Linked DNA regions of Homo sapiens: region 1 is linked to region 2. The links are contacts of gene promoters, found by promoter capture Hi-C in blood cells and fetal thymus (Javierre and others, 2016). All regions are on one chromosome and are shown on one strand. The core of a region is centred on a gene start or on the middle of the fragment in contact, and the rest is flanking DNA. Distances in the headings are between cores, read along the strand shown. Region 1 overlaps DGKH (diacylglycerol kinase eta). Region 2 holds the start of NAA16 (N-alpha-acetyltransferase 16, NatA auxiliary subunit).

Region 1 (4,437 bases), core at 936-3,435, 800 kb after region 2:
GTCTACTCTTTTCAAGACAGCTATTCTCAAGTAGAGTGGCATGTGGGTAGGATGAAGAAATAAAGTAATTTGGATGCTGGAATGACTTTTGGGGTTAGGGAGATAAAGTTAGACTATCTTCTAAAGATTGAGTGGATAAACTTAACCTGTTTTATGATTTACCTTCTCCTCATACTGTAATACAGATTTCAGAATTCATATACCACTGAAAATATTGAAAAAAGAGGCTGGGCGCGGTGGCTCATGCCTGTAATCTCAGCGCTTTGGAAGGCCGAGGCGGGTGGATCACAAGTCAGGAGTTCAAGACCAGCGTGGCTAAGATGGTGAAACCCCGTCTCTACTAAAAATACAAAAAAAAGTAGCCAGGCACAGTGGCAGGTGCCTGTAATCACAGCTACTCGGAAGGTTGAGGCAGGAGAATCACTTGAACCTGGGCAGCAGAGGTTGCAGTGAGCTGAGATTGCACCACTGCACTCCAGCCTGGGCGACAGAGTGAGACTGTGTCTCAAAAAAAAAGAGAGAAAAGATAATTTTGTGCATCACACTCCTGTGTGAATCTATTGCAATTTACAAATATGGCTCTGTGAGGACTGACAACATAGAATTGCAAATGAGTGAGCTCTGCTTGAGTGACATTTGGAGGAGCGGTTATTTAAGTCCAGCATTTAAGGGTGAGTCACGAGAGGAAAGGTCCAGGGCGGGGGTGTGCATTCTGCACCTGCAGAAAGCCACCCATATGAAGAACCCAAGGTGGGAGGAAGATGAGTGTTTTGTTTGGCCAATGGCAGGTAGACCAGAATGCCAGGAGCAGACACTGCAGGCAGTGGGGAGTGGGGATAGAAGTGATGTTTCAAGAGGGTGAAGCTGTGAAGATGAAACCAGTGGGAGGCCTTCCATGCCGAATTAAAGGGCTTTGCCTTGTTCTGTAGTTGATGAACAACCAATAAAGATTTTGAGCAGGGAAGTGACCAGATGAGATCTGCCTTAAGGAAACAATTCTGGAGGGAGGGAGGGAGTATGGAGGATTAATTAGACAGGGGGCTAGTTCAGTGTAAGGAAATACATCTGTTTTTCCTGTTTCTGTCCATGTGATTGTCTTGTGAACAGTGGGGGACTTTTGTGGGACTGTGGTGTTCAGTTGAGGCCTGCCCGGGTAAGGCAGCCCCGCTGTGAGTACAGGAACAAGAACTGCAAGGACAGATCGTAGACAGGCAAGCAGGAGGGCTCGGCTTCTTAGCTTTGGTGTGGAGACCTTGAGTGTGCTGTCTCTCTGAGCTTGTGCTCCTTGGCCTTTGGGGACCCCTGGTATGCCCCTGATGGGGGAGCTGAGACAGAAGGGTCCTAGAGTCTCTCTTTGGGCTCAGAGGCATGGAGGACAAAAGGGATTTTGTCCTATTGTCTAAAATGGTACTTTCTGTCTACTTCCCTTTTATTAGTGCCAACCTTTAGAAAAGTCTTGTTTGAGTGTTCTGTGTCACCTCTGCTTTATTACGAGTCCTTAAAAGAAGAGTCATTTTTCACACTCGGGCCAAACTTCAAGAGGAATCAAATGAAGAGTTAGTGTTGTGACAGGCAGGTGGTGGTTCTGGCCCTGCTCACCATCAGGAGGTTCTTTCTGGTGTGCTGGTCTTGGAAGCATTTCTTCATAGGGGGTCATTGTTATAGTCTAGGCAAGAATAATAAAATCACAAGCATTAGGTCACTGGGCACAGGAGCAAAAAGGAAGACCAGTTTTCAGAAACCTTTTGATTGGCAGATTAATTTAAGGGTGAGGGAAAATAAATTTAAGGGTGAGGGAAAATAAAAGATAGGTTGGGAGTTCTGGGGTTCCTAAGCAGTGCTTAGGAAAATACACTGCTGCTAGCAGGTGAGGTCATAGGAAGAGGAGCAGAATTGCCACGGGAAGGTGCTGAATTCATTTGGAATTCCGTATAGAGTGACTTTTACCCAGTGCCGTGTAGTTAGCTGCTGGCAATTTTGGAATTAGAATCTAGGTTTTCTGAAGCCAGGCCAGTGTCTTTTCTATTAAACTAAGACATGTGTTACGTGAAATAAAATGTACTTGAGTTTCAGGTGGTGACGGCATCTCTAAGTGGAGATGTCAGGCAGGCAGTTGTAAATGGAGCTGGAGTGAAAATGAGAATAAATACAGAAATTTATTTTAGGAGTTATGTATATATTTAGAGGAGATAATTGGAACTATGGGAAGAAGTTCATTCAGAGAGATTTGGCACATAGGCTGTAATTGGAAATAGCCAAGGGGTAGATTTCCTGAAAAGGAGGGAGTGGAAGCTATAATGCATGCAGTAAGGCTGAAGGAAAGGAAAGGACAGAGGCAGCGAGAGGATTCTAATTTTTTAAAGCGGTTTTGTCATAATGGAGAGGAAGGCATAGCTTGGAAGCTGGGACATAATCAAGAGGTGGAAAAAGTTGTTATTTTTAAAAATAAGATATGCCAACGGGAAGGAATGGATGGAGAGAGAACGATTAGAGATGAAAGACAGAGGGACTAGTTCAATTTAGTTTAACAAACAAATTGTAAGTACCACTGAGGTGATAGGCATAGTGCTGGGTGCTAAGGAGACAAAGATGAAGTAAACATGAATCTGACTTGGGGACATTTACTGTCTAATAAAGGACAGGAACGAGAGTAACACAAGACCAGCTGGTATTTACTGAGCACCGTGTGTCAGGAACCATTGCAGATACTTTACATGCATTGACTCACTGAGTCCTCACAACACCCCTATGGCTTAGTTATTGTTATTATCCATAAAGAAGCAGAAACTCAGTCACAGAAACGTTAAGTAATTTGTTCAAAGTCTTTAACAACTAGTCAGCCGTGGAGCCAAGGTTTGAACCCAGGCCGTACCTCTGCACCTCTGTGCATGATGGAGATGGACGATTACACCACAACGCAAAGGTGGAAATAAGAACAATAAACAGAAGTAGCCTAAGGGAGAGAGGGCTTAGATTTTTTTGGCAAATGATAGAGAAATATAGAAAGATCTCAAAGGAGGAATAAATGGAAGACAGGATGGATCCAGATGAAGGGATGCAAGAAAATGCTGTCAAGACCAAAGTAGAGAACCCATGTGCAGCTGTGCGTGCGTGCCTGTGCGTGCGTGTGTGTGCGTGTGTGTGTGTGTGTGTGTCTGTTGCTGTTTTTTCTAGTAATTTGCACAGCCTTCATCTCTGACCATTTCTTGGTTCCATGCTAACCATTTCTTGGTTCCATGCTAATCACAGAGGACACTCACATTTGATTCTCTTCATTTCTGTGAACAGTTATTAATAAGATATTTTTAAAAAATCTACTAGAACTGGGTTATCCTTTTTAGGGGTATCAGTCTGGTCCATCAAAATCATCATTGGAGTGGAGTTTATGATATTAAATATAACATATATATGTGTATCTATCTATATCTATCTATCTATGTATCTAATCTGTCTACCCATCCAGAGAACTGACAGATTTCTAACTGATTTCTGATTTCCCATGTAGTTGGGACTCAGATATTCTTTGGGGAAAGAACTAGAGAATTTCAGAGGCAGATTATTGAAGATGCAGTTGAAATTCCAGAAAATAAGCAGATCTTTTGCGTGAAATGCTGAGTAGCTCTTTCTGAGATAACTGTATGTGGTAGATGTGAGATTCCTGATTGTCTGTGGCTCAGCAGTCAGATGCCTGCACTTCACCCTGTTTCCCATCCCACCCTTGACCTTACCACTGACCCCCAGCTCCTCCTGCAGCCACAAACTGCATTCCAGGATAGGGGACATTGTAAGCGCAGCAGTCCTGTGAGACTCAGGTATGGTGTGAGGCTCTCTACTTTGCACATTAGTTATTAGTTAAAAAAACAAACGTGATGTCTAGTGGTTTATTTTAGACAACATCAGAATGTCCCCACATCAAAATAGTTGCATCATTGTGGCCATGGGGGAAAGTGGTTGGTTACATCAAAATGTCATGTGTGGGCAAAGGGATTATTCTTGGATGTGAGTAGGGGCATTTGATAAGGAAGAAGTAAATTCAGAATTTGAAGGATAATCATTCATTCATTCATTCATTCGTTGTTTTACCCATTTACAACACAGTTACACATACGACATTCAGGCATTTACCAGTTACGGGAAGGATTTGTGCAACTGAAGAAAAGCCCATCTGTGTTCACATTTGAGAAAGAAAATCCTAATCATTAGCATAGCACCACTGCCACCTTGTGGTAATGCATGGTAGTTCATTATATTTTATGAAAAAACTGTTATGTCTGGTATTTATACAGCATGTACATTTTGTACCTTCTGCATGTAACGGTACGTTATAAAGCCATATACTTTTACCTAATACTAATTTAAAAATACACTCAGTGGGGGGAGGAAGAGCATTAGGAAAAATAGCTAATACCTGCTGGGCTTAACACCTAGGTGATGGGT
Region 2 (5,136 bases), core at 1,467-3,966:
GGCACTTCTGTGTGCTTGCTCAGTTCTCCGGGTGGGGGACTGCCACTAGTACAGGTGCGACTAAGGCAAGCTCCTAAAGCATCTATACTTGCCTACTTCCTAACAGCTTGGGCAGCTTGGGAGCTCTGCAGAGTACACATAGGCCCTTGAACCCCCACTTTTATTTTTTTCTTTCCATTTTTTATTTTAGACTCAAGGGGTAAATGTTCAGGTTTATTACACAGGTAAATTGCATGTTGTGGGGGTTTGGTGTACAGACAGTCTTGTCACCCAGGTAATCAGCATAATACCCTATAGGTAGTTTTTTAATCTTCACCCTCCTCCTACTCTCCACCCTCAAGTAGGCCTCAGTGTCTACTGTTCCCTTATTTGTGTCCATGGGTACTCAGTGTTTATAATTCCACCTGTAAGTGAAAACATGTGGTATTTGATTTTCTGTTCCTGCATTAATTCATTTTGGATAATGGCCTCCAGCTCTACCTGTGTTGCTGCAAAGGACATGGTCTCATTCTTTTTTGTGGCTGTGTAGTATTCCATGGTGTACCACATTTTCTTTATCCAGTCCACCGATGGGCATCTAGGTTACTTCCATGTCTTTTTATTGTGAATAGTGCTGCGATGAACATACACGTGCATGTGTCCTTTTTTTTTTTGAGGCAGTTTGTTGCCCAGGCTGGAGTGCAGTGGCATGATCTTGGCTCACTGCAACCTGTCTCCCAGGCTCAATTGATCCTCGCACCTCAGCATCCCAAGTAGCTGGGACTACAGGCACTCGCCACTATGCCCAGCTAGTGTGTGTGTGTGTGTGTGTGTGTGTGTGTGTGTGTGTGTGTTTGCCATGTTGCCCCGGCTGGTCTCCAACTCCTGAGCTCAGGGTGATCCGCCTGCCTCAGCCGCCCAAAGTGCTGGGATTACAGGCGTGAGTCACTGCACCTGGCTGTGCATGTGTCTTTACGGTAGAACAATTTATATTCTTTTGGGTATATACCCAGCAATGGGATTGCTGTGGACCCCCAATTTTAATGACAGTACTTTCCCTATTTTAAAGGACTCCTATGATGCTTTAAAATCATGTGTGAAACGTAGGAGATTGAAAGAAAAAAAAAGACTCCTATGATTCTTTCATGTCCAACCAACTTAGGCTAGAAAGAAGGAAAATCAAATAGGCAGGCACTGTGGCTCACACCTGTAATCCCAGCACTTTGGAAGGCCGAGGTGGGCAGATCACCTGAGGTCGGGAGTTTGAGACCAGCCTGACCAACATGGAGAAACCCCGTCTCTACTAAAAATACTAAATTAGCCAGGTGTGGTGGTGCATGCCTGTCATCCCTGCTACTTGGGAGGCTGAGGCAGGAGAATCGCTTGAACCTGGGAGGCGGAGGTTACAGGGAGCTGAGATAGCGCCATTGCATTCCAGCCTCGGCAACAAGAACAAAACATCGTCTCAAAAAAAGGAAAATAAAAAAGGGCAGCCCAGTTCTGATTACAGCCGACTAAATGCAGTTACTCATCAATTACTTTATAGTCTCAGAAATATGCACCCATTAAGATTCAGCACATGTATAAATAAACTTATGTACCTAATGTTTACACACACCTTACTACTAACCCTACACTGAATGTATGGTTTATTCTTGCCACTGTTGTATCTTTCTAGACTCACACATTACCATCAATATGCTGCCTTTTATTTGTTGTAGAGAGTATCCCAGAGTTGGAAGATCCTGAATTTGAAGCCTGTTTCTCCCATTATTATATGGCTTTCAGGAAGGGGAACCATCTGAAGAGAAAGGGTAGGTAGACTCAGAAGACCAGTGGCCTTATAAAACCGTAATTCCGGCCAGGTGTGGTGGCTCACGCCTGTAATCCCAGCACTTTCGGAGGTTGACGCGGGGGCGGATCACGAGGTCAAGAGATCAAGACCATCCTGGCCAACATGGTGAAAGCCTGTCTCTACTAAAAATACAAAATTAGCCGGGTGTGGTGGCGCATGCCTGTAATCCCAGCCACTCGGGAGGCTGAGGCAGGAGAATCCTTTGAACTCAGGAGGCGGAGGTTGCAGTGAGCCCAGATAGCGCCACTGCACTGCAGCCTGGGCGACAAGAGCGATACTCCATCTCAAAACCAACCAACCAAACAAAAACAAAGATTGTAAATGTTTGTTTGGTTTGCCCTGGAAAGAGAAGGCTTCTACTTAGAGTCTGAATCAAGGAGGAAAAGGAAAGAAAACAAGTTCATCTTTCATCAAAAGTCTACTTTGCATCGGACACTTAAATTCCTAAATGGGGAGAAATGCAAAAAACTCTGACTCTTCAGAGTCATAACTAACATTATCTTGCGCCACAAGCTTATCAAGAGTGCAATACAAGTCAGTGTCTTCTCTTTTCTACTTAAAAGAAAATTCTCGTTTTTATTTATTACTTTATTGCAAGGAGAAGCAGACAATAAGTAGGAGTCTTATGAGGCGTTCTGATGCATAGGAGCAATGGTGAATGAGGGTGGTGACTCACCACCCCATGGGACTCCAAGGTTTTGGTGACAGCTCGCCTGAGCCCCAGGGGGTGCCGAGATTGCGGCGAGGAGAGCCGCAGCACAAGGCAAATCCACGCGGTTGGTCCCCGCTACGCCCCCGTAGTCACCCGCAGCCCCTCGCCAAAGGGCGCTCCGCGCATGCGCACAGGATCCGGCTCGGGAGGCGGACCCTGGCTGCCATCTTGCAGTGCGCGGGAACCGCCGCCGCCGCCGCTGGCCAAAAAGCGGAGCCCAGGGGAAGCGTGTCCTGCTCAGACCGCCTTCCTTCTCCATTGCCACCCGTGCCGAACAGCCAGGCTGCCCAATTGCAACTGTAGACCAATGAACTAATCCATCGCCCGCAGCCCGACTCTCAGCAGCGGTTCGTCCCGGTGCCCACCCCCGCGAAGCGGAGCGCCCGGGCACCTAGCCTCCCTGCCGGCCACCTAGCCTCCCTGCCGGCCACGATGCCGAACGTGCTGCTGCCGCCCAAGGAGAGCAACCTCTTCAAACGCATCTTGGTGAGTGGCCGTAGGCCGCGCTGCCGCCCCCCGGTCCCCGGGTCCTCGGGCCTTAAGGGCAAGCGGTCTGGCGGCGGCCGGCGCGGGCCAGGCTTGGCCTCCGCTGCCCACCGCTCTTTGTTTACCTCGGAGGTCGCGGGACCCCACTTTCCCGCTCCGGCCGGCCCACGGGGGCTGCCGAGCCGCTCCTCCGTGCGCTTCCTTTCCGCGGTCTTCTGCGGCTCGCCTCACCCCCGCCGCGCTCTTTCCAGAAACTTCACGCCGCTCTCCGCAGTGCCCGGGCACAGCCGCCTCGGCCGGTAGTGGCTGCCGTGCTCTCTGCCGCGCCGGGCTCGCAGCAGCCCCTCAGGGATCCTCCCCCGGTGGTTTATTTTGCCAGTCTCTCCTCGGCTAGGTGTTTTGCGTTCTGCATTCTCTGCTTTGCGTTTAGTTAGATTGCACAGCACACCCGCATACCTATTAAAGCGGGATCGATGCGATGGTGGAATTTTTCCTGGTTACGAGGAAATAAAACCGGCAACTTTAGGAAGCCAGGCCTGGCACCACCTCCCTTTGGGAAAAAGTTTGCCTGTTTGTAATGTACCTTATTTACCTCTTTGGAAGTGAATATTTGACTTGAAGTGCGTTTCTGAGTTGTCACCAACTTCAAAACAGCTGTTTGCTTTTTAGTCGCACAGGCCTTGCTTGAGTAATTAAAGCCGCGTGGACTGGCTGGTTTTGCATTTGAGGGGAGCATTTTTACTTTATCGCGGAGCAGAAGCCTGAATAATGGCCCCGTAGTGATGACCGCTGCGGAGCCGGGTGGGCAGTTTTCTGTGGGCTGTGTGCCAGCGTCCCTGGTAGCTTTCCAGGTTCTGTTCTTCCAAGGAGAAGAGGCAGCATTCCTTTGCTTTCCTCAGTATCCTCTGGCTACCCTAGGTTTTAAACTAATATTGTTAGTAGGTAACTGTCTTTTCTAGTTTATCTTTTCACCTGAAAAAAAGCTTTTATTTGCTAAACATGCATTTAGGTTTAAAGGTGAATTTATTGAAAGCTGGGTTGGCTATATGGCTGTTAGTTGTTGCTTAACTTTACTATAAATAAAATACTAATTTTAGAGTAATTTTAAGTATGAACAGCGGCAGATAATTCATAGTAGCTGTTCTGTTTCAAGACGATAGAAACTTCACACTTAGTCTTCAGATTAGGATACATAGTAGATGGGATAAAAATTTTAAATATTATGTGGTGCTTAGTTTTGAACCAATAATAAGATACAAATGTGAGAACATTAAAAATACGAATAATTAAAGCACGTGGCAGGTTGCTTCATTGGGCTTTGTATTTTTTTATTTTACTTCTCATGCCCTTTTATTTTACACAGCATGGAATTGGAGAAGTAATTTATTTATTTTTATTTTTAATTTTTTTTTGCCCTGGGAATCTGAAACATTAATGATAATATCATTTATAAATCGCTAGTTGGATTTCAGGACATTTGGCATCATACTTTAAAGATGACAGCACTTCTTTTCTCTTTATACGAGTTTTTTGTAGTTCAAATCATGGATCAGTGTCATAAGGAAAAAGTTACATTATTATTCTTAAATTACAAAAAAGGTAGGGTTTATCCCCAAATAAATTGGGAAATGGTAACCACTAAAAAAAAATCAATTATTTTGAGATGGAAGTCTCGGTTTGTTGGCCAGGCTACTGTCGAATTCCTGGCTTGAAGCGATCTTCCCACCTCAGCCTCCCAAATTGCTGGGATTACAGATGTGAGCTACTGTGCTCAGCCAAGCTAAACATTTTTAAATCTAGGTATGTAATGTTTCTGACAAGGTTGCGTGAATTTAGGAGGATTCTGCATAAACGAATGATTTTATCATTTCACAATTGCAATAAATGTGGGTAAAATTTGGCTACAACAAATTCCATAGCAAACAGAAGTCTCTGTAATAAAATTATCTTTAAAGTTTAGTGGATTAAAGTGCTTTGCCACCAACAGTAAAATTTTTTCTATTGAAAAAATTCAAACACATCCACACAAACTGACCAGCTGGTTTTTTACGTGTTCCACGTGGCTTGTATCTGCATGTCTTATTCCCCAGACTGGATATTAATT

Evidence for each region. Contacts are between HindIII fragments. The CHiCAGO score rates a contact against its expected background, and 5 or more counts as called.
Region 1: a contact is called between a fragment that was not itself captured here and the fragment with the promoter of NAA16 in region 2, in 2 of 17 cell types (monocytes and fetal thymus). The highest score is 6.1, in monocytes.

Annotation. Positions count from the first base shown.
Region 1 is chr13:42,106,537-42,110,973 of GRCh38, forward strand. The region is part of intron 1 of DGKH (diacylglycerol kinase eta); the gene reads left to right. Among named protein-coding and RNA genes, the nearest start is that of DGKH, 60 kb to the left of the region's middle. The HindIII fragment of the contact is 6,038 bases long and covers 1-4,437 here.
Region 2 is chr13:41,308,551-41,313,686 of GRCh38, forward strand. It overlaps NAA16 (N-alpha-acetyltransferase 16, NatA auxiliary subunit), which reads left to right and starts at 2,717. Exons shown (of 20, transcript NM_024561.5): 1 at 2,717-3,032. The coding sequence starts at 2,979. It also overlaps a transcript of MTRF1 not described here. The HindIII fragment of the contact is 1,668 bases long and covers 2,346-4,013 here.